Linked DNA regions of Homo sapiens: regions 1, 2 and 4 are each linked to region 3. Evidence: promoter capture Hi-C in 16 types of primary human blood cells and fetal thymus (Javierre and others, 2016). All regions are on one chromosome and are shown on one strand. The core of a region is centred on a gene start or on the middle of the fragment in contact, and the rest is flanking DNA. Distances in the headings are between cores, read along the strand shown.

Region 1 (5,979 bases), core at 545-3,044, 470 kb after region 3:
TGAATGGAATGAAGATACAGTGACAAGATTTTTATTGTCTAGAGACGTCTGTCTAATAGTAGCTTAAATAATTAGGCTTTATTTTTTCCCTCACGCAGCAAAAAGTCCAGGTGTGGGCACTTGCTGTTATTGGGTCAGATTCCTAATGATATTATCAAAGGCCCAGGATTTTTCTCTTTCCACTTTACCATGCTAATCATCTTGACCTTTAGTTCACATGCTTGTCTCTCACTGCATAGTTGCAAGATAAATGCAAAAGTTCTAAGGCCTTATGTTTGCTTTATAAGCCAGGAAGCAAAGGGGAAAGGAGTAGTACCTCTGATTTTGTCCCTTTTATTCAAGAAAGTACACCTCTCTTAGACTTTTTTCTCTAATTTCATTTGCCAAAATTGTGTCCCATGGCTACCAATAGTAGCAAGGAAAGCTGATAAAGCAAGTATCTCTACTTCCAAACTCCTTAGAGTGGGATGTGCAAAAAAGCTGGTTGGAAATGACTTTTTTATTAAGCAAACAGCCACAGGGTTTGGAATAAAGATTTGGGAGGCATCCTTACAGAAGTGATCTTTGAAAATGACTCGAGAAATAAACATTGAAGGAGAAAATGATCAAAGAACCTTGAGAAATACTGACACTGACATATGGAGAATGAAAAGATCAGCTTTCAGTTACAAGATTAAGAGTAGTAAGAAAAAAAGGGTGGGGGAGGGAAGCAAGTAGTGCAGTGTCCTGAAAAACAAATTATGGAAGAATTTTAAGACAAAGAGGAAGGTTGGTCAGTGTTGACTAGCTCCACAGAGCTGTCAAGGAAGATGAAAAAAAAATGGATTTATTGATTGGGAGGTTGCTGGCCTTTCAGAAAATAGGTGCTGAAAAGAGATTAGAATCTGAGAGATTAAGGAGTGAGTGATTAGACCGTATAAGATGGGTAGCAAAAAGAAGGAAGAGAAAAGGAGTGTGAATGAACACACAGAAAGGTTGTATTAGTTTAGGGTGTTTAAGTGAGGGTTCCAGAACGGAGAGCTGGAGATCTCTTGGTAATTGTTCCTACCTTTACTAGAAGTCACTGCTTTTATTTTTTAAGTTTAGATTATAAAATTTCTTCTACAGTATTATATACATTACAGTTCCTTCCTTGGATCAATTTACCAAATGAGAAATAATAAAATGCCTCTCTTAGACCTACCTCATTGAATAAAAAACGGAATTGATAATTATTTTTCATGACATATTTGGAGATTCTGGTTGGGAGTAAATTGTGTTATATGAAGATCACCAGTAATGTGACTTCCTTAAGAAGCATGAAGAAATTAGTGTTGTCTAGTCATTTCTTAACATTAATAACAATATCAATAAAAAGATGATTTTGATGAGCTTGACAAAACTGAAGGATCCAAAGTAAATGTAATTTAAAAACTCATGTAGAATAATGAAAGAATATATCCGAAGTTACATTCAATAGTGGCATATATGCTGTTTCCCATACCATCTCAAAAATTTGCAATATGGAAAGCTCTCTCCCACTTCTCCCCTTCTAAAAAATCTTCTCTATTCTACATCTTCCAAAATGTTTACCTATCTGGGTAAGCTTTGCTGAGAAATCTAGATGACTGAAAGAAAAGTTATAAGAAAAAAATTATAGCATACAAAATGCATCTTTGCTTAGAACAATGGCCTCTATGTGGTTAAGAATGTGAACTGTGGCTCACCTGAATCAGGGTTTATATCCAGACTTCAACACAATTAATTCTGTAATCATGGGCCAGTTACTTAAGCACTGAGAGCCTTACTTTACTTATCAATAAAATGGGGAATAATAAGCGTGTGTATTACGTAGGGTGGTTGTAAGGACAAAATGAGATAATTGTTGTCCCATTTTATCTACAAACGTGTTCAAACACACCCTAAACTAAAACAATCTTTCTGCATGTTCATTCACACTCCTTTTCTCTTCCTTTTTTTTGCCACCTGTTTTATATGGTCTAATTACTGACTCCTTAAGCTTCTGGTAGAGTGCCTGTCATACCGTGGCTGCTCAATGCACGACAGTTTATATTGCTGCTGTTCTTAATATTATTACATGATTTTTATTTATATTCCAGTACTATAATTAACTTTGGAAAAGTTGCTTTTTGTTTGTTTGCTTTAACAATAACCACAGGAAAGCTCTCAACTGGGAATATAGCCAAAGATAATATTTCCTAAATGACTCTTTATTTATATTAAAATGTTCTATATTTATATTTTAAATATGTACTTGTCTTCATCCTTACCACAGGAACAAACTCTTAGTAACACTGCTCTGTATCAGACACATTTCTCTAGGCCTTACATATTTGCTCATTTAATCTTCACAAGAGTACTAAGACATAGATACTATTAGTGTCATTCCCATTTTCTAGATGAGGAAATTGAGGCACAGAGAGGTGAAGCAGCTTTCCCAAAGTCACAAATCTATGAAGTAGAACTGGATTTGAACCAGGCCATTTAGCTTCGGAGTCTGTGCTCTTCTTAATCATCATACTCTAAGATGACTAGAAATGACATAGTAAATATTATTTATTGTTCAGATACCTATTATATTTTGCAAGGAGTGTTTTTAATTATATATTTTAAGTCTCAAAGGGAGCAATTCCAACAATTTCACGAAAACACACTTTTCTCTCAATACTTGAGATTTATAATCTTAGGTTGTCAGAACCTTAAAAGGTCAAATGTTGTTACTCTATTCATCTCAAACACTTTCTGCTTTATGAAAGGGCACCAATCTATTCAATAAAGATGCAAAAATAGAATTTATGACACATACAGGACTTGGCTCTTCAATCAGAGCTCTTTCCACTATGCTGCATAATATGGAGTTGGATTTTCAAAATAGTCATTGTTAGAGCCTGCAGCTATTTGAGACTGATTTCTATTCTGGCATAGAATATAAATGATTCAGTTTAAAACCATCTGTATTTCAAGTCCAGAAGAGAAGTGCACTACATGCCCCTGTGTGTGTATGTATGTATGTATTGTGTAGGCAGTTATAGAAGGTAGGTCATTGGTTCAAGGCCTAGATTGAAGTAAAATGTGCTTAATCATATGAATTCCTATTTGTGAGACTAGGAAGGCAGCAGGAGTCAGTGTAGTCAAGATGCTTTAGTTTGACTTCCAGTACTAGAAGACTGAGCTAATTACTCCTTCCTAGAGAGGAGACACTTCAGCTGATGATGGAAATGGAAAGGATGCCGTCAATCTTACTTTTTGCACTTGAGAATGTGTGAAACTGCTCTGTCAGAGGCACACATTTCTACCAGCTGTCAGAAGTCGTACTGGAAATGAAATAAGACCTTGGGAAGAGAGATGTGCCCATCATTGAAATGCTTCCCAACCCTCTCTGTCTTTTCCATTGTAGAACCCAATGCATATGATATTTTCTGCTTTTATTTTTACCTTCCTCTATGCATATAATGATTGTACTTATTTATGGGGTACATGTGATATTTTGATACAGGCATAGAATGTGTAATGATCAAATCAAGGTATTTACAATATTCATCACCTCAAACATTCATCATTTCTTTGTGTGGGGAGCATTTCAAATCTCTCCTAGCTACTTTGAAATAAACAGTAAATGATTGTTAACTATTGTGCTGTTGAACACTATAACTAATTCCTTCTATGTAACTGCATGTGTGTATCTATAAACCATCTCCCCTTCCCAGACTCTGGTAACCATTATTCTACTCTCTACCTCCATGAGATCTATATTTTATCACCCATATAGGAGTGAGAACACATGATATTTGTCTTTCTTGCCTGGCTTATTTCATTTAACGTAATGACCTCCAGTTCCATCCATGTTTCAGCAAATGAAAGGATTTTATTATTGTTAATAGATGAATAGTATTTTATTGTGTATATACACCACATTTTCTTTATCCATTCATCCACTAATGAACACTTACATTGGTTTCATTATTTTGGCTGTGAATAGTGCTGTGATAAACACGTGGATGCAGGTATCCCTTTGATATACTGATTTTCTTTCGTTTTGATAAATACTAACAGTAGTGGACTGCTGGTATGGTACTTCTATTTTTAGTTTTTTTTTTTTTGAGAGACTTCCATGCCGTTTTCCATAATGGCTGTACTAATTTATATTCCCACCATAGTGTATAAGAGCTCCCTTTCCTCACATATTTGCCAGCATTTGTTATTTTTTGTATTTTTGATCATATCCATTCTCACTGGGGTGAGATGATATCTCATTGTGGTTTTGATTTGCATTTCTCTAATAATTAGGGATGTTGAGCATTTTTTCATATACCTGTTTCAATTTGTCTTCTTTTGAGAAATGTCTACTCAGATCCTTTGCCCACTTTTTAATAAAATTCTTTTCTGTTTTTTGTTTGTTTTGCTATTGAGTTGTTTGAGCTCCTTATATATTCTGGATATTAGTCCCTTGTCAGATAAACAGTTTGCAAATATTTTCTTCCGTTCTACAGGTTGCCTCTTTAATCTGTTTATTATTTCCTTTGCTATGCAAAAACATTCTAGGTTAATATAGTCCCCTTTGTCTAATTTTCTTTCTGCTGCCTGTGCTTTTGAAGTGTTAGCCATAAAATCTTTTCCTAGACCAATGTCCAGAAGTGTTTCCCCTGTGTTTTCTTCTAATAGTTTCATAGTTTCGAGTCATATGATTAAGTTTGTAATCTACTTTGAGTTGATTTATGTATATGGTGAGAGATTGGGGTCTAGTTTCATTCTTCTGCATTTGGATATCTGGGTCTCCCAGCACTATTTATTGAAAAGGGTGTCCTTTCCCCTAGTGTACATTTTTGGTACCTTTGTTGAAAGTTAATTGGCTGTGAATTTGTTTCTGGGCTCTCTCTTCTGTTCCATTGGTCTATGTGTCTTTTATACCAATACCATGCTGTTTTGGTTGCTATAACTTTGTAGTATATTTTGAAGTCAGGTAGTGTGGTGCCTTCAGCTTTGTTCTCTTTGGTCAGTGTTGCATTGGCTATTTGGGGTCTTTTGTGGTTTCATATGAGTTTTAGGTTTTATCTTTTTCTACTTCTATGAGGAATGTCTTGGTATTTTGATAGGGGTTGCATTTAATCTGTAGATTGCTTTGGGTAATATGATTATTTTAACAATATTGTTCTGATCCATGAGCATGGGTTGTTTTTCCATTTGTTTGTGTCCTCTTCCTTGTTTTTCTTTGATGTTTTGCAATTTTCATCATGAAGGCTTTTCACTACCTTGGTTAAATTTATTCCTAGGTGTTTTTTTGTTGTAGCTATTGTAAATGGGATTGCTTTCTTGATTTCTTTTTCAGTTAGTTATTTTGTATAGAAATATTACTGATTTTTGTGTATTTTGTATCCTGTAAATTTGCTGAATTCATTTATTAGTTCTAAGATTTTTTTTGGTAGAGTCTTTAGTATTTCTATATATAATATCATGTCATCTACAAAGATGGACAATTTGACTTCCTCTTTTCCAATTTGGATGTCTTTTATTTCTTCTTAATCTTTCCATTTCTTCAATGCATAGCATTATATTATGTAGACATAAATTTTGAGGAATCTAAAGTCTTAAGTACTTTTATCAAAATGATTTATTTTAAAGGAAAATCTAAAGTAGTTTTAGGACTCCAGACAATCTCCACAGAGATTTATTGTGCAATGGTTAGTGTGCTTCATGAGAGTGGGTCAGTATTCAAAACATACTGCTGGACACTGTCTCTGGCTGGTAATTGACTATTACAAAGACATTTATTTATATGTGGATGATAGACATTGGTGATGACTTGGGTTTGAGTATTTATTGGCTGTCTGTGACCTTGAGCATCTAACTTCCCTATCAAGTTTTCTGTTAAAGGATCTATAAATGAGAGTATGCATGTACATTCCAATACTGTTTAAGCAAGCAATATGTTTACTACAATTGGTCTACGATTGATATATCAGTATGTTCTATCACAAGTTC
Region 2 (6,001 bases), core at 3,468-5,967, 490 kb after region 3:
CTGTATTCGTATGACAATTAGAATCTACTTTTTCCACCTAACATGTTATAAATGATAATCACTATTTTTGTGAATTGACATAATTAAATGGCATTCCATCATTGTAGTCACCATAACCATCATCTTGACTATTATGTAAAAGTATGGTTTTCTTTCCTGCAGTGTATAGCTCTCTGACCTGGATCCTGTGGGATTTGCAGAATTAATATAGATATTACACTCTCCCTGAAATGACCCAAATTCTTCACAGCCTAGAGAGGGATTTTAGCACTAATTATTTTCAGTGTATTAGTAACTACACTTGTCTTTGTAAAATGAAGTAGTCGTTGGAAATAAAAACGTGTGATATGTACGTTCAGGGTAACCTATGAATTTCCCAGGTCTCAACTGTGTTTGCTTCTGCAATGATGATTTTGAACCACCTTGACTGTTAACATCTTTCTATGCAGCACAAAACCCAGATAGTTTTAGGTAACCACCCTCTTCTCTGGAACAAAACAAAGTACTAAATAATGTTAAAAGTCTTAAGTGAGCAAGTTTTGTAATTTGACCCTGGTTTTATATCTGCCAGATTGGCTACTCATTTACCCTTATAGATAGCAGTCTCTGAAATGGTTCATCATAATTACTGGTTGTGTGTGTATTATATTTATATGAACATTAGAATCAGAAATCATAGAAATGTTAACAGAATTCTGATCTCAGGGTCTATAATGGGGGCCATTTTATGGTTAAAATTACCTAAATGTTAAAATTATGCTATTTCTTTTAATATTTCTTTAAAGGCCCTCTTATATATGAAATTTAACTCAAAAACATATTGTAACATTCTAGTATAATTTTTAAAGCTTTGAAGTTCTTTCTACAATCAATATCATGTAATAATAGTTTTCAGAAGTTCCATTTTTTTAAATGGGCACAGAAAACAAACCTAGAGAAAATGGGATTAAAGTTCAGCATGATCGGATAAACTTTGACATGAAAAAGAATTTCCTGATTTCCTGCCCAAAAAGGTTATTTTAACTCTATAACAAGTTATTAAAGTAAGTATGGGATACCAAAAGCTAGACATCCTTGAAATAATTGAATCTGAATAGCATAAAGCATAAAGCTAGATACAGTCAATGTGTTATTATCTTCTCAACATTACTTATTGATAATTGTGGCAAAAAAGGAGAGGAAAGTACTTAATATATTTTAGAAAATATGTAGAATTTGTTATCTGATAAATAGTTAAGAATTTTGGCATTTTACTGCTTTGTTTTTCCTTTGTTACAATCAGTGAAAATAAAGGAATAGGAATTTGGGAGGGTAAAAATGGGACGAGGTTTAGATGATAAAAATGTAAGAATACTTGAACGAGGGAAGAACTGAGAAGTGTAAATTGGTAATAGTAATACTAATCATCTTTCTTAAACACTTAAATTCTAGGCATTTATAATTATTTAATCTTTGTGACAACAACATGAGGGTAGGTACTGTTATTATTGTGACTATTTTTACAAGAAGGAAACCTAGGCATGGTTAGATTAATTGCATTGCCCAAGATTGCAATTAGTTGTTTAGTGGAGCCTGGATTTTCCAAGGCCGTTTGGCTCCAGAGCCTGTTTTTTTTTTTTGTTTGTTTGTTTGTTTTTTGCCAGTGTTCTTTACAGTCTTTTAAAGAAAGGGAAGAAAGAATTCTGTGGCTAGACTCTCAAAGGTTATTTCCTGTCACAATGGACAATATGATATGTACCAGCAAACAGCTACTTTCTATACAGCTCCTCCACAGGCTGGGATCATTTCCTGATGATTTCTGAACTAATTTTTCCAATAGCAGCCAGACCCAGTATTGCAGTACCTAGGTCAGAATAGCCCTCTAAAACACGGAAAGTATCCGAAACAGCAAGATGACTTGCCACATTGATTGCTCCAACAAATAAGGACTTTCAAGTGGCTCTAAAGTAGCCCTCTCACCACTGCTCAGTTGAGACACAGCAATGTTGCATCTAGGCATATACCTGAGGCATTGTTAAGCATACAGCTTCCCAAGCCAGCTGCTGAAGGGTTTAAAGTGTGGGCATGTGCATTTGTAACAAGTATTCTAGGTGATTGTTATCGTGGGAGGAATTTGAGAGATACTGCTCGACATGGCTCTCAACCTTGGCTGCATGCTGGAATCACCTGGGAGTTTTTTTTTTTTTTTTTTTTTATAAATCACTGATGTCTTGATCCTACTGTCAGATATTCTAATTTAATCATTCCGGGGTATAGCCTAGGCGTAGCAGTTTTTTAAAAGCTCCTGGGAAGATTCTAATATGCAGCTAAATTTTATAATCTCTGTTCTAGAGTAGAGCTGTTCATCCAGTGTTCCTGGAACATTGCTATGTTAGAAATTAAGAAGTTTGCAATCTATTGAGATTTGAATCTTCTCAGCCCTTGGGGTGCTGGGTGTGCTTGCTGAGGCAGACATGGCTGGTCCTCTTTCACAGTCTATTAGTAAACTTTTCTCTTTACCCCAGTGCACCCTATAAATATTATTTTCTAGGTCTACCATGATGTAAAAACAAAATGGAATGCATACCTCTAGAATAAAGCCTATGTATTTTTAAAAAATTCCTCAGATAACTGTGATGTTTAGGCAGTATTGCCACCAGTCTCCCAGAATTTCCTTGCAATATTTTTTTCATATTAGTATAAAATTTCAAGAAAACTAAAGGTTCATTAAAATGTAATATGTAGATAAATTGTATGTTCACACTGTTAAAGCAGTTGATATGAACAAAATCTCTACATACATTGTAAGAAACATATCAAATATCCCTCTACCTACTATTAATTGTAACATTTTACCATATTCACATTAGTTTTACTTTTAAAGGAAGATGTAAAGAAACATATCAAGTCTTTTGTGTGTCCTTTCTTGATCCTATTTTTCTTACTTCAATTCAAAAAATATCAACTGTCCTCAATTTAATTTGCATTATTCTATGAATATTTTACATCTTTCACAAACATGTATATCCACAATAATGCAAATATGTTATTTTCTGTGGTTGTCTCTGTATTTGAAAATAATTACAACTAGTTAAGAGGTCAAGGATTTACTATAGACAAAATAATAAGATTTACTAGAGGCAAAAGCACAAAATCATAAAATGCTAATGCCAGAAAAGACTGTGAAAATCATCTATTTAATACCCATCTTATTCAGTACTCATGTTGATGAATATGAGGACTTTCCTAGATAAAGATGAGGCCTCTCCCCATAATCTATAGGTTTCACTATTTCTGAGGTTTGTCTGAGGAGAAAAGGGAGGTTTGAGTGTCTGCCCTCCAATTTATCCCTACGAAAGTGGTAGAATTGCCATGTAAATATATGGGAAAAAGGTATTTTTTGTCACCATATTCACACTCACACTCAACACTTCTGTGACCAGATGTGTGGGTTTTCCACATCAAACAATTCTCCCAATCCCTGTGGACATCAACTGTGTGTTCAGCAATTTAATTCTAAGACTAACCAGTGCCGTTAGCAAAGACCCCACAGGTTAAGGGCTCAGTACCACAAGACTGCCCCTCACTTCAGATGCTAATCACAAGTAGTGGGTCCCTAGATTATTCACAATTTCTGTCTGACTTGGCTACAAATCAGAGATTCCCGCCATCCCCTTCTAGTGTTGGATAATTTCCTAAAGTGGTTCACAGAGCTCAGAAAAGCAATTCTACTTACTATTGCTAATTTATCACAAAGGATATTTTAAAGGATACAGCTGAACAGCCCAGATGAAGAGGTAAATAGGGCAAGGTCTGGCAAGATCCTGTGTGCAAGAGCTTTTGTATGTGTAAAGTTGGGGTGTGCCCCCTCTTGGCACATAGTTGTATTCACCAGCCTGGAAGCACTCTGAACTCAGTAGTTTAGGGTTCTTTATTGAGGCTTCATCAAGTAGGCATAATCAATTTTTAACTCAATGTGTAATCCCTCACCCCTTCCTGCAGGATGAGGGCTGGGGCTAAAAGCTCCAAACTTGTAACCATGCCTTGGTCTTCCTGGTGACCAGCCGCCATCCAGCATCCCACCAAGAGTCACCTCATTAGAATAAAAGACCCTCTGATCACCCAAAAAGTTCCAAGGAATTAGAAGCTCTATGTCAGGAACTGAGGCCAAAGACCAAATAAAAGGACAAAAGATGCACCTAACACTTCTATCACTCAGGAAATTACAAAGGTTTTAGGGTTCTGTGCCAGGAACTAAGAGCAGAAACCAAATATGTTATTTGTACTACTTCACAACTGAAACCTTACTAACTCAAGAGCAACCTTTTATCCTCCCAGCTCCTCATCACTCCTGCAGGTCCTGGTCTTTGCTCTCCTGCTAACCAGGATCCCCAACCCTTGAGTTCTGGATGGAAAGCTATCCAAGCTTTCCTCACATTTCCTTCTCATATCATTTCAAACATTTATATAAGATTTAGATTTCTCCCTTACTTGACCCCTGTCTCTGAGAAAAGTAGGCCACACATCTCTGTACATTCTCATTCTTACACAGTTGAATTACCCTTTCTTATTTTCAAATCAACACTCACTGCTCTCCTCTCTCCCTTTTATCTAGAATGCCTTTCTCCCCTGGCAAAAGTTTTACCCCATCTTTAAAGGTATTCTGCCAATATCACCTCCTTTGTACATTTTCTAGATTAACTAATATAATCTTTCTCTTTTGAACTTGTATTGTAATTTGTACCTTCTGTCCAGCACTTTATCATTTTATACATTGTAAACCAATTGTGTCATCCTATTTTTTGCCCTTATCAATATGAAAGATTTGGGGAGGATAAAACTACATAGTTCTAATTTTTTGTAGCCCCAGTAGTATCTATTGGAGTATGTGGCATTTTAAAAATAGGTAATCTTATTGAATTCTGTTCATTTCTCTTGAGGTTAAGAAAAGACTCAGTAGTTGAAGAAGTGATCAAAGCTATCCTTATGTTAAAAAAAAAAAAGGCTTCTCTCCATGAAATATATTGGCCTATCTGAGGATCAAAGCTTTGACTTCGTTCATCTCATGCTCTGATAAGCTGAATTGCTTCACAAAGTTTGCATGATTAACACTGCCTGCCTTAAGTGCTTTAGTCTTGCCAGAAACTGGTAAATTTTGAATATCCTTTGTGTTGTTATATAAAGATTCTCTGTGCAAAAGTAATTGCTTTCCTCAGCTAAGAAGGTCATGACTTTTCATAGTAGATAAGAATATGTGCTTAATAAATAAGCTGACCAAGTCTATTTTAGTTTCTATGAAACATGCCTGTGCCTACTTTTTTCTTCATTGTTGATTGTGGGTTTAGTGAGTGCCAGTTATGATGTAGAAATTGTATAAAAGCATAGCATTGGCATGGGTTTGATTTGTCAGAAGTCAAAATACTGAAATATCTGAATAAATAAATTAATGACCTGTAACATCACTTCTATCCTTAAATACATATTCTGGTGGGGGGAAAAAAAAGAGCAAATCTGCATCTCATTCAACTTCCTGATTTCTCTCTGTTGTCCGGATGTGTTAGATTAAATACGACCACAGATTCTTTGCAGCTCCTCCTATAAAGAGGTGGAGTCTATTTTCCCACTCTTTGAAACTGATCTGTCCTTGTGACTTGCTTTGATAGAATGCAACAGAAGTGATATAATGTGGCTTCTGAACTTCTATTTTAAGACGCTTTGCAGTTTTTACTTTTGCCTTCTTGGAATACTTCCAGAATCATATAAAAAGTCCAGGTGAAAGTTTGCACAGAGAGAGAGCTTCGCAGTTTTCAGGGCCATGCCAGTCATCCTACTGAGGCCCTAGGCATGTGAATGAAGCCATCTTAGAGTCCCAAGCCCCACTCGAGCCACGAGCCACAAGCTATCTGAACCCCATGAGTGAGCCCAGATGAGACAAACATAATTGCCTAGTCAACTCACAGAACTGTGAGAAGTGATAAATCACCATCAAGCCATTAAGTCCTCGCTTTGTTATACAGAAATA
Region 3 (5,883 bases), core at 1,696-4,195:
TAACAAAGTTTCTGTAATTTTTAAGTTTTTAAAAATTGAGATGAAAACAAGGACTTACTTTACAAGTTATTGTTAACATAACTGAGTAAGCATTAAAAAACCTATATGATGCTTGGTGCTATATTCTAGAAGAGATTTTGAATAGTGAAGGATCATAAAAGTAGATATGATGTCATATTAATCTCACCTGAGATAAAAATCTAGAGGAACAATGAATCTATGGAGAGAGTGTAGGCTGCTTCACTGCAAAGGCGAGTGTGACACCAACCCTGTAGATCCTGGCTTGATTTTATTGCTTTAGACAGCAAGGTAACTACAGGGAATCACCTTTGACTTCTGGCCCTACAAAGATATTTCAAAAGGAAATGAAAAATATTTTGTCCTTCATTGGCAAATGGAGTTATGTTTTGGGGGTACAAGTCAGCAAAAGTTCAAGGTTTGTAAAAGTGAATGCTGAATGAGTTTATTAAACCACGGAAGCATCTGAATCCTCCAGGCTTATTCAAGGAAAAAGCCACCAAATAACTAAAAAAGGTAAATATCAGGATGATTGATGGATTTTTAAAAATGCCTTGTGGTACATGCATCTGATGGCATCCTGATTCATATTCTCTCTTTTCTGAGAATTCAAACTTCCTACGTGATGTACACAAGTAAGTCACATATTCTTCAGCCGCCCTGTAAAAGGACTTTGTCAGCATGGTCCATGTCTGGACTTTAATTATAATAGGGTCCTCTAAGCATCTCACTTTAAACGTCCATTTCCATAGAATCAGTAACTGCATTTATTTTACAACTCAGTCTTTTAGGAGGTATGGTTTGGTATTTCTGGCATTGCTGCTGTAGTCTTCATAAACACACACACGCACAGACACACACACACACACACTCTTCCACTTAGAGGACAGATATGTTAACCATATTTCCAATTTAGTAGCAAAGCTCTGACATCCTAATGTCCTGATATTATTTCAATCTCTCTCTATTGTGAGAAAAATCAGAAACTGCCCAGTGAGAAAGTTGTATCATCTTTCCAGCAGATCTCTATGAACACGGCTTACCCATTGCTTGGAGATGGGTGTGTTCAGTGCTGCCCCATGGAGGAGAAATCTAACTGTGTGAAGGCTTCTCAAAGCTGATCCACATCTTGACAGGGATTATTTGTTCCTCACTCTCCTATCTCTCTGCATTCAGCTCACTTGGGGTAGAGGCTGAGCATAGGAGAAAAAGCTTGAAGAGAAGCAAAAGGAAGGGCTTCGGGGGCGCCAAGCAGTTTCTGGCCTATAGTGTTTATTATTTGATTCTATAAACATTTATTGAAACTACAGAATATTAGGTATTGTCCCAAGCTCTGGGAGCAGAGTGATGAAAAAAATAAATGAAACGAACAAACAACTCCCCCCACCAAACAAAACAAAACAAAACAAAACAAAACAAACCCAAAGTCCCTGTCCTCATTGGCAAGGCTTATAATGTGGTGGTCAAAGGTTTGAGGAGTGAAAGGATGCCTAGATGCGGGCAGTGACAGCAGGGGTGACAGCTGGGGGTACATACAGCTTCCTGGTTTGTGAAACTGTTAAGCCCCGACTTAACCCAAATTGATTTCACTGTCCTGACTTTGAGATTCCAGTCTTTTTGCATGGCAAATGTAACACTTGTGTACAAGCATTCGTACACTGCTTTACTTAAAATGTGATTTTAAAGCGCCCTCAGGGAGAAGGGCTGGGGTGTCTTGATGGGCTGGCTCTGGGCACCTTTACCTTTGAACGGCTCCATCAAAACCTTTCCGAGAGAGCCGCCAGGTGGCACCTGTAAAGCGCAGATGGGGAGAGTCATTTGCCCCACACCCTACACAGCCCGGAATAACCAGGGTGCGTGCTTTCCCCTGTGGGCTTGTTAGGGGCTAGGAAGTGGGGGAGTTTTAGTCTCCGTCCAGACTGCTTGCTTACATACCCCGTTTTCCTGATACCCCAACACATTCAGGGCGGATTTGTCCCCACGCACCCGGGATATCAAAGGCATGTCATACGCTAGTTGGGAGCATCTCGGCCTCAGTCACCCGCCGCGACGTGGGAACTGGCGGTGGGTGGCCGAGGGCTGCTCTAAGCTGGTCTCCTCAGCCCGACCTCTGCCCGGGGCAAGGGGGAGGAGGGGCAAGAGACAGGGGTCCCAGCGCGGCTGCAGACTGGGGTCCAGCAGGCGTGAATGGATGCCTAGACGCAGGCAGTGACAGCAGGGATCCCAAGCCCCTTCCAAAAACCCTCGGTCTAGGGACTGCGCTGCCATAGGCCGGGGTCTGGGGCGCTTTCTTCCTCCCGCGGGTTCTTTCTCTGTGGTTTCTCCTGCCCCCGCAGCAGCGTGGCGGCCTCGGGTCCCCCCTCGTCGCGGTAGCGGTGATCCCACAGCCCAGTCTGGGTGGGCGACCCAGCGGGCAGAGGGGCCGCAGAAAGGGGTCGGGGTACGGGGTGTGAGCACACGGAGCCAGCGTGGTAATTTCGGGGTGGGCAGCCGGGCCACCATCTCCGCTCTATCAGTAGCGGGAAGCGAGCAGCGCCAGTTGCGCGACTGTCGCTGCCACGGCCGCCTCTACTCGGTCGCTGGTGACATTGGGAGGAGACCGCTTGGAGAGAGCAGAGGAGGAGGAAGAGGAGCGGGGAGGGTGGGGGTTGGGGTGGAAGAAAGTAGCAATTGTGCCAGGGGGCGTGTGAGCAGCCGGAGAGCCAGCCGCGCTGGTGACAACTTCTCTGGGGCGCGCGCGGGGCTGGTAGGCGAGGAGCGAGCAGGGAGCGCGGCCGAAGCCAGAGGCTGGGGGAGCTGCTGGAGCCTCGCGAAGCCGCGGCCGGCGCCCTGCGCCGTCGCCGCCGCCTGCTAGTTTCCTCCGGGTTCTCAGCCCCGGGTACTGAGGCTTCGGTCTATAAATAGCAGGTTACAGCTCCTCCTGGGCGCGCACACGCTCACACGCTCGCAAGCGAACGCAGGAAAGTCAGGCTAAAAGTGTCTGCTGCTGCTGCCGCCCCCCACTCCGCCTCCGGGAGAGGTAATTACCCGCCTGGGATCCTAGGGCTCGGTGGGGGAATTTTGCAGGGTGGGGTGGTTGATGGTGGGTAATCCGGGAGGCGAGGGAGCGTGTCTGAGAGCGTGGCGGCACGTCTTGGAGGGGGGAGCCTGTCTGTTTTGCATCAAGTTTCTCCGTCTTGCAGCCTCCATCACCCCTCCAGCTCTTTAGCTTAAAGGGTGGGGTGGGCTGTCTCTCCTCGGCTGCTGGGGTACCCCTGTCACCGCGCCTACCCTCTCGCCGAGCGCCCCTCTGCCCGGCGCGCGCGCGTTTTCGCATTCTCACTCACACACGCACACTCTCCGGGCCCCCGTGGAACTCTGAGCTCTGGCCTCGCTGACCTTCCAAGGCTGCGCCCACCTGCGCTGTCCCTGAGAGACGCTGAGGTTGGCCCGGGCACTCGCTCTCACTTCCAATCCTGATGATCGCAAGCTGCCGCCGCCGCCGCCGCCGCCGCCGCCGGCCTGGGAAGAAGTCCTTAAGGAATAGAGGCAGTGGTGGGGAGTGAGGGTGACTGATGTTGGTGGTCCCGGTTGCCTTGTTTTTTGTTTTAAAAATAAAGAGCCCATCTCCTTGACCACCTTCATCCCACCCTCAACAACTCATTCTGGCAGAGAAGCCTGGCATGTCTTCTCTCGGCCATCAGGCAGCATCTCTTGTCCTTCCCCAAAGAGGTCTCGCTGAGAGGTTAGGGCCTTGGCGCAAGAGTGCCTGGGTTTGGACGGGGGAGGTCATTGTTTCGGGTCTGAGAACTATGCTGCAGGCTCCTCAAGCTCTCTGGCGCTCAGGCAGGGCCCAGGGCCGGGGAATGTCTGGGAGCCTGGTTCCTGAATGTAGTTTCAGGCTGGTAGCTGATATGAAGATGAGGATGCTAGAACCACATATACCTGTTTTTCCCCCTCCCCACGCTTCTGAATTCTCCCTTCCTTGGGGGCAGTAGTTTCTGCTCCTGGGGAGTCGGTGGAGAGGGGCCCAGCAGTTTCTCTTTGGGGACAAGAGGGTGAGGAAGCACATATTGATTAGGTTGTTGCTGCTGCTGCACAAAACTTACTGGAAAAACCCGGTAGGGTTTTCTATTACTCTTGTTTTAAGGATGTAAATTTACTCCTTTTCCTCTTTTATCTTCTCCCTAACCAGAACTAGTTTTCCTTTCTCTTTCTGGAATGTTATTTGAGGTCATTATATTTTATGACTCCAGATGTTACATTTTGCATATCTCCTTCCTGTCAGTATGACAGACAGAACTTGTTTATAAAGGTGTGGCTCTGTAAGTAAAAGCCTAAAGACAGAGGATAAATTCATCTTCTCTCTCTCAAGATGAGCTCCAGATAGTTCTTTTATAGGTGTACAACTACATTTCAAAGACCTTGCTTGAAAAAGGACTTTTCTTAATGAGTTCTGGACCAGAAATGGTAGTAATCTGACTCAATGATAAAGCAGCGCATAAGGTGCAAGGAATCATCAACAGGGCAGCTGGCTGATGATGTGTAAGAAGTTGAGTAAAGCAAGGACTGGGCAAGTGGGCATTGTCAGTTCACATACTATGCACAGAAATGCATCCTCTCCTTTACGCATTGATGCACATACATGCATTATGTGTTCCTTTGTGATATAATCCTGTAAAGCATTGATAGGAAATGATCAATAGTTTTGTGAAAGGTACATGGGCATTGAAGGTTGAACCTCGTGAATTTGTAGTAATGTAAAATGCTATTGCAAAATGGATTGCTTTTTCAGTGTATTTCCTTAAAATGTGATGTAGAAGATTGTCCTTGAAAGGTTATGAAATGTGTGTGTGAAGATAGGCTAAATGCTCAGTGACATTAAGAAACATGTTTGCAGATTGAAATACTGCTCTTATTCTAGGAGAGTATTCTCTTTGATTAAGCAAATCAATATTTATTTGTGATAAAATAATGATCACTATGATGTGCATATTTATAACTCAAATTTGCTTTTGACTCTTTATAAAGTGTAAGAACAACCAGATAGACCATTTAGTCTTGTCCCTCTATTTAAAGTAGCATGCAGTCAAAGGTATAGGCAGAAAATACTTTTAAAATGTTGTGTTTGAGCTTCAGTTTGGGGCTGCAAATTGAATGACTTCATGTCTCATAAGATTTTTGTCAAAATACTAAATCGCTCTACTATCATAGACCATCAGTTAAACTTGATTATAAAATAATGCTATTATATTTTAGTTGTGTGAAATGGAAAATCATTAAGCTTAGGGAAAAGCCAGATATTTGTTCTAAATTGTGCAAATTGAAAGTAATTAATTCCTTTCTGAAACCTTGGAGCATCTTCTAGTATAAGTACTATAAATCCCCAGATGGGTAACAAAGTTAACTTTCACTACCTTGAGGGAGAACCCAAGATGACAATTCTCTGAAAGACAGAAAAAAAACCTGCTAACTGATCTTAAAACTCATAGCAACCAAATGAGTGGCAGTTTCTAGGTAAGTATTTGACATCTGAGAACAAAAAGTTAAGAAATTATGGAATCATAATTAGTGAGTAAAATGCTTACTGAATATCTATTACATTTTCTTATTTCATACTGAGTGATGCCCAGTAGTACTAATATTAGATATACAAATATCATACCTAATCTGTACAAAATAAATTTTTGTCTTTCACAACTATGGGGATTTTAATAGATAGAAATGCCCTGTTTTAAATAATCTCAAGTTAAATGTTCAGGTGAAAGCTGTGTGAGTCTCTTCTGTATTATGTACCTTAGTTTTTCAACATGTCCTGTATATCTTTCTAAAGCCTTAAGGAATCTTTTCCATAGGCCACTTTGTTAATACTTTTAAAAAATGTTG
Region 4 (5,590 bases), core at 43-2,542, 400 kb after region 3:
TGTGCTTGCATGCCCCCTCTGGTGGGAGGTAGCCTTCTGTCACCTGTTTCTTGGTGTCTCAGCCTGGTGGCGGGGGCAGAGGCATTCTCTATCGTCATCTTTCATGCTTGGTTGTAGACAGGCCCGATGTTCTTGGGTCTTGGGGTGGGACTTTCTCAGTGATCCGATCACTCTATAGTAATAAAGGATCAGAGGATCTCTAGTGGTGTCATCCCAGGAAGATTTACTGCTCCTCCCTTTCTAATTTCAATGAGTCTTCACCTAAGGTCAGCAGGGTCTGTCATTTTTGTTCTGTAGGAAAGAGGATCCAAGTGGGTCTTTGTACTTTTCCTGCAATTACTGCTGTTCCCCTTCAGCAGGCATGTACCTCAAAGGGACACTTTCTCCAGGCACCCACTCTGCTTCCAATCATTCTCATGGGCATTTGGGTGAGGTCCATAAAGAAGACCCTTTAGTCAGTGCAGAATACTCTTGAGTAAAGGCTCTCAGGAGTGTTATATTCTCATGCTAGCCCACAGATGACATTATATATTTTGGCTGAATTCTTATTACCAGGTTTTTTGAGGTCTGATATGGTTTGGTTGTATCCCTACCCAAATCTTACCTTGAATTGTAATAATCCCTATGTGTCAAGGGCAGAGCCAGGTGGAGATAATTGAATCATGGGGTCAGTTTCCCCCATACTGTTCCCATGGTAGTGAATAAGTCTCACGAGATCTGATGGTTTTATAAATGGGAGTTCCCCTGCACAAGCTCTCCCTTGCCTGCTGCCATGTAAGATGTGCCTTTGTTTCTTCTTTGCCTTCCACCATGATTGTGAAGCCTCCCCAGCTGTATGGAACTTTGAGTCCATTAAACCTCTTTTCTTTATAAATTACCCAGTCTCAGGTATGTCTTTATTATCAGTGTGAGAACAGACTAATACAGTGCCTGACATATCTTCCTACCATGCTCTGCTCCATGGAGACATGTAAATTTCCTTAGGTATCCAACTAGTTGGTTGCCCTGAGACCTCATCTGTTTTACTAGTTAAGGAAAACTTATGATTTCATGCATCATTTAAGTTTTCCTTGAAGTTAGGGTGGGAGTCATTCTTTTATATCTTTGTACATCCTAAATGGAAACTGGTACCTTCTATGTGACAAATATATTTTCCTAGTCCGTGGTTTGTTTCCTCACTTTTTATGACATCTTTTGCCCACAGAACATTTAATTTTAAAGTAGTCAGATTTATTCATCTTTTTATTTTTTTCTTCTCTCTCTTTTTTTTTTTTTTTTTTTGAGATGGAGTCTTGCTCTGTTGCCCAGGCTGGAGTGCAGTGGCATGATCTTGGCTCACTGCAACCTCCGCCTCCCGGGTTCAAGCAATTCTCCTGCCTCAGCCACCCATATAGCTGGGATTACAGGCACATGCCACCACGTCCAGCTAATTTCTGTATTTTTTGGTGGAGATGGCATTTCACCATGTTGGCCAGGCTGGTCTCGAACTCCTGACCTCATGATCCACCCACCTCAGCCTCCCAAAGTGCTGGGATTACAGGTAGGCGTGAGCCACCGTGCCTGGCCCATGTTTTTCTTATGGTCTATGCTTTTGAAGTTGGGTTGAAAAATCTTTTTCTACATTGAGTTCATAAATATGCTTTTTTATTTAAGAAAAAAAATAAAGCCATTGGTAAGAGCATCATCAATTTCAGATCATGCATCATTTTCTACTCACCTTCCTTTCTTTAATTATAGTGGATTGTACCACCTGGATTTTGCCTTGCTTGTATCTCCTTAATGTTCAATTCTATTTCTCTCTCTCTCTCTTTTCTGGCCATGTTACTTCAGCATTTAAATGTGCTTATGTATCCCAATTATTAAAAAAAAAAAAAAAGCTATTTCTTAACTCAGTGGCCTTATCTGCTTGAGAAATATCAGCTAAGTAGAGTGATGACACTGTTCCCTCTGTTCTTCCTACCTGCTGCTCCTCCCATCACTGACCATGCCTTTTCCAACTAACTTCTTTTCTTGTCCCCTTAAATATTTTTGCACCTTAAGATTAATTCCTCAGCCCTCTCTTCTTCTCACTATATGCATTTTTTTAGTGACTTCATGAATTATTTGGTTTTAACCATTAGCCAAATACACTTAACCAAAGATACTTCTCTAGACTTAATATTTCTCCAGAAAATTTAGACCCATGTGTGTTTCTAAGGCACCTCAGAACAACATGAGTAAAACTAAATTAACTATCCTTGACTAAAATTCCTTTTATTCTCTCCTGATAGGTTAGTGGCTTGTAATTTACTAGGTAGCATGATCTTTCTCTTTTGCATGAATTCACCTCTGATATCACATCTAATTCTATCACCAACATCAGGTAATTCTATTTAATAACTTAGAATCTAGATTCTGTTCTCTAATCATATACTTCTATCTTGGCTTAACCCTCATTATTATTTTATTTTCCTTGAATATTAACCTCTAAATAGGTTGCTTTTCTTATCAAGCTACCACCTTTCAGTACAGTCTTTACTTTTTGACACTGTAGTGGATTTTCTAAAATTCACGTATGATCATGTCACTCTCTTGCTTAAGTATATCTAATGTGGCTTCTTTCTGCTCTCATAATTAAGCTTATTCTCTCTAGCCTGGCCTTCAAGCTTTTTCTCTGATCTCCGCTTGTCTTGCTAGTTTTTCTCTGGAAGCAATTCTCATCTCAGATAAGGAATAACCACCACCATACACACAAAAATCTAATGGACAACATGAGGACAGTGCTTAATAATAGTATTTTATTCAGCATTTTTGCTAAATGAGTAGATTATAGCTGCTCTTGCCACAGGGGCCAAAATAGGTAAATGAATAAGATGATGAATATGTTAATTTGTTCCACCATAGTAACTATTTTGCCATATATGTGTATCTTATAACGTCATGTGCATATCTTAAATATACACAATAAAATGTATTTATTTTAAAAAAGAAGGAGACTCAAAGTTTTCAAATTGAGTTCTAAGAATGTATTTTTAAAGCTCCATGAGAGAAAAAGTGAAGGCAAGGAGTGAATGACGGGCAGGGGGTTAATAGGGCTTGTATTTCCCAGCCCACACCAAACAGAGCAGCTCTGCTTTTATCTGTTTTACATATAAGCCATTATATTTCATATGAAAAAATTTCATTGACAGGATAAAAAACATTAGGAAAACCAACATCTTGGATTTAGCCAAACTGAACTATTTGCAATTCTCTGACTTGTCATATTCTTATTTTCCCACATCTTTCATTCCTGCTGCTCCGTTGGCCTAGAATTGCCAGGACTCTCCCCTTCACGTAGTTCACTTCCTGGAGCCTCTTCCATGCAGTCATCCTGGATTTATTTGAGCCCTTATTTGGTGCTCTTTCCTTCTGCCCTATACTCTGATAATATCCCTTTCATGGCAGTTATCACATTCCACTGTAACTATTCATTTGATTTCCTCCTACTAAGACTGAATTCTTTTAAAGGCCAATCCTAAGTTAGTTATTTCTGTGTGCTCAGTGCCTTGCACATGGTGACTTCTTAATAAATGTTTGTTTATACAATAAATGGATGAATAGATTTATCTAGTGCTTATTGGAATCAATCTTGTTGCTATGGGGAAATAAGAGAATCAAATTTACGTTCTGACAGAGTTATTTTATTAAAAAGCAGAGGAAAAAATGTATATCTATAAAGTAGAAAATAAACAGTAATAAATTATGTGAGATAAGTTACTAGGGGAACTTAGGAGAGCATGGTATTGCTTTCAGCTGAAGAAAGAGAAGTCATCATGGATGAGGTGGCACTTAAACCTGGCCCATAGAATTTGAAGGTATGTCAATTAGGAATGTATCTGAGGATGATAGAATGGAATGTAGAAAGCCATTGGGTGTAATGTGACCCGTTTCTTCTGCATATTTGATATCATAGGTTGTCATCAACTCAACTCCATAACTGGCTCAGAGAGAGTTTTAAATTTTGGCTAGAAGCTGATAGGGAATACCAACATTAGAGAGTTTCTTTCTTACTTGTATGCTGCTTCATAGGAGGAAAAATTGATTAAACTCTTGACTTTGTGCATTCTTTTGTTCATGTCTCAGAATTTCTGTTCTGTCAAGAATCAGCCCAAATAAATACACACACATATAGATAGGTACATAAATTAATAAAATGTGAAAGAATCCATGAAGGAGGGAATATATTCCCATAGTAGTGTTTACTAAGTGTTTGTGTCAGTTTGGGTCTTTCAGAAACAGATGCCAAGATGAAATGAGACATGCAAAAGATTTATTGGGAGGACACTTGAGAAGGATAAAGGTGAGAGAGCAGGGTGGGAGAATCTTCAGACTGTAATACACCTGTATGACACTTCCACACAGAGACGGAAGGGGGAGAATTACACAGGAAGAGCCTCAGACTATAGTACAGCTTTAAGAAAGTCTTGGCCAAGCTGATGGGGAGCCCCAGAACAAAGATTGCTTGTTAGCAAAATCCCGCAACAGGCAGAAATGGCCTGACTATAATACTTCTGCCATGTGTAGGCACTTGGAGCGATCTAGGAGGCACATGGCTTCCCTGAGGACCTTGGAGTATTCTGCAGACATGGAGGCTCGAGGCTCAGACACCTGTATTTCTCACAGCAGGTCTCTTGATGAGACATCTGAGTGGTGCACCCCATGGTCCCACAGTGTGCATTCCCTAAAGGTTTAACTCATCTATAGATTTTATGTCTGTGATTTATTCACAAGAAATTTATAAATAATTGTTTTAGGCTACCAAACATCTTTACATGTAGAAGGCATTTAATGTCTTGCTGGGGTTCTTTGTTTATTTCTTGTAAATTTGTCTAAGTTCCTTGTAAATTCTGAAAATTAGGCCTTTGTCCGACGGGTAGATTGCAAAAATTTTCTCCCATTCTGTAGGTTGCCTATTCTCTCTGATTATAGTTTTTTGTTGTTTTGCTGTGCAGAAGCTCTTTAATTAGATTTTATTTGTCAATTTTGCTTTTGTTGCAGTTGTTTTGGCAATTTCATCATAAAATCTTTGCCCATGCCTATGTCCTGAATGGTATTTCCTAGGTTTTCTTCTAGGGTTCTTATGGTTTCAGGTTTTACATTTAACTCTTTAAACCATCTTGAGTTAATTTTTGTACAAGGTGTAAGGAAGGGGTCCAGTTTCAGTTTTCTGCATATGGCTAGCCAGTTTTTCCAGCACCATTTATTAGATAGGGAATCTTTTCCCCATTGCTTGTTTCTGTCAGGGTAGTCAAAGATCAGATGTTTGTAGATGTGTGGTCTTATTTCTGAGGTCTCTATTATATTCCATTGTTATATTTGTTGGTTTTGGTAACAGTACCATGCTGTTTTGGTTACTATAGCCTTGTAGTATAGTTAGAAGTCAGGTAACATGATGCCTCCAGCTATGTTCTTTTGCTTAGGATTATATTTGTTATACAGGCTCTTTTTTGGTTCCATATGAATTTTAAAGTAGTTTTTTTCTAATTCTGTGAAGAATGTCAATGGTAGTTTGATGGGAATAGCATTGAATCTACAAATTACTTTGCACAATATGGACATTTTCACAATA

The links. The method cuts DNA at HindIII sites, captures the fragments that hold promoters and counts their contacts. A CHiCAGO score of 5 or more calls a contact.
Region 1: a fragment that was not itself captured here is called in contact with the fragment with the promoter of INPP4B in region 3 in 3 of 17 cell types (fetal thymus, M2 macrophages and megakaryocytes); the score reaches 5.5 in fetal thymus.
Region 2: a fragment that was not itself captured here is called in contact with the fragment with the promoter of INPP4B in region 3 in 13 of 17 cell types (fetal thymus, M2 macrophages, megakaryocytes and 10 more); the score reaches 25.0 in fetal thymus.
Region 4: a fragment that was not itself captured here is called in contact with the fragment with the promoter of INPP4B in region 3 in 2 of 17 cell types (non-activated CD4 T cells and megakaryocytes); the score reaches 5.7 in non-activated CD4 T cells.

What each region holds. Positions count from the first base shown.
Region 1 is chr4:142,370,001-142,375,979 of GRCh38, reverse strand. The region is part of intron 7 of INPP4B (inositol polyphosphate-4-phosphatase type II B); the gene reads left to right. Among named protein-coding and RNA genes, the nearest start is that of INPP4B, 470 kb to the left of the region's middle. The HindIII fragment of the contact is 414 bases long and covers 1,588-2,001 here.
Region 2 is chr4:142,354,844-142,360,844 of GRCh38, reverse strand. All of the region lies in intron 7 of INPP4B (inositol polyphosphate-4-phosphatase type II B), which reads left to right. Among named protein-coding and RNA genes, the nearest start is that of INPP4B, 490 kb to the left of the region's middle. The HindIII fragment of the contact is 620 bases long and covers 4,408-5,027 here.
Region 3 is chr4:142,843,363-142,849,245 of GRCh38, reverse strand. INPP4B (inositol polyphosphate-4-phosphatase type II B) reads left to right here and starts at 2,945. Exons shown (of 26, transcript NM_001101669.3): 1 at 2,945-3,037. The region is part of intron 3 of USP38-DT (USP38 divergent transcript); the gene reads left to right. RefSeq lists an enhancer at 1,602-2,188. The HindIII fragment of the contact is 4,051 bases long and covers 1,233-5,283 here.
Region 4 is chr4:142,438,103-142,443,692 of GRCh38, reverse strand. All of the region lies in intron 3 of INPP4B (inositol polyphosphate-4-phosphatase type II B), which reads left to right. Among named protein-coding and RNA genes, the nearest start is that of INPP4B, 410 kb to the left of the region's middle. The HindIII fragment of the contact is 2,656 bases long and covers 1-2,620 here.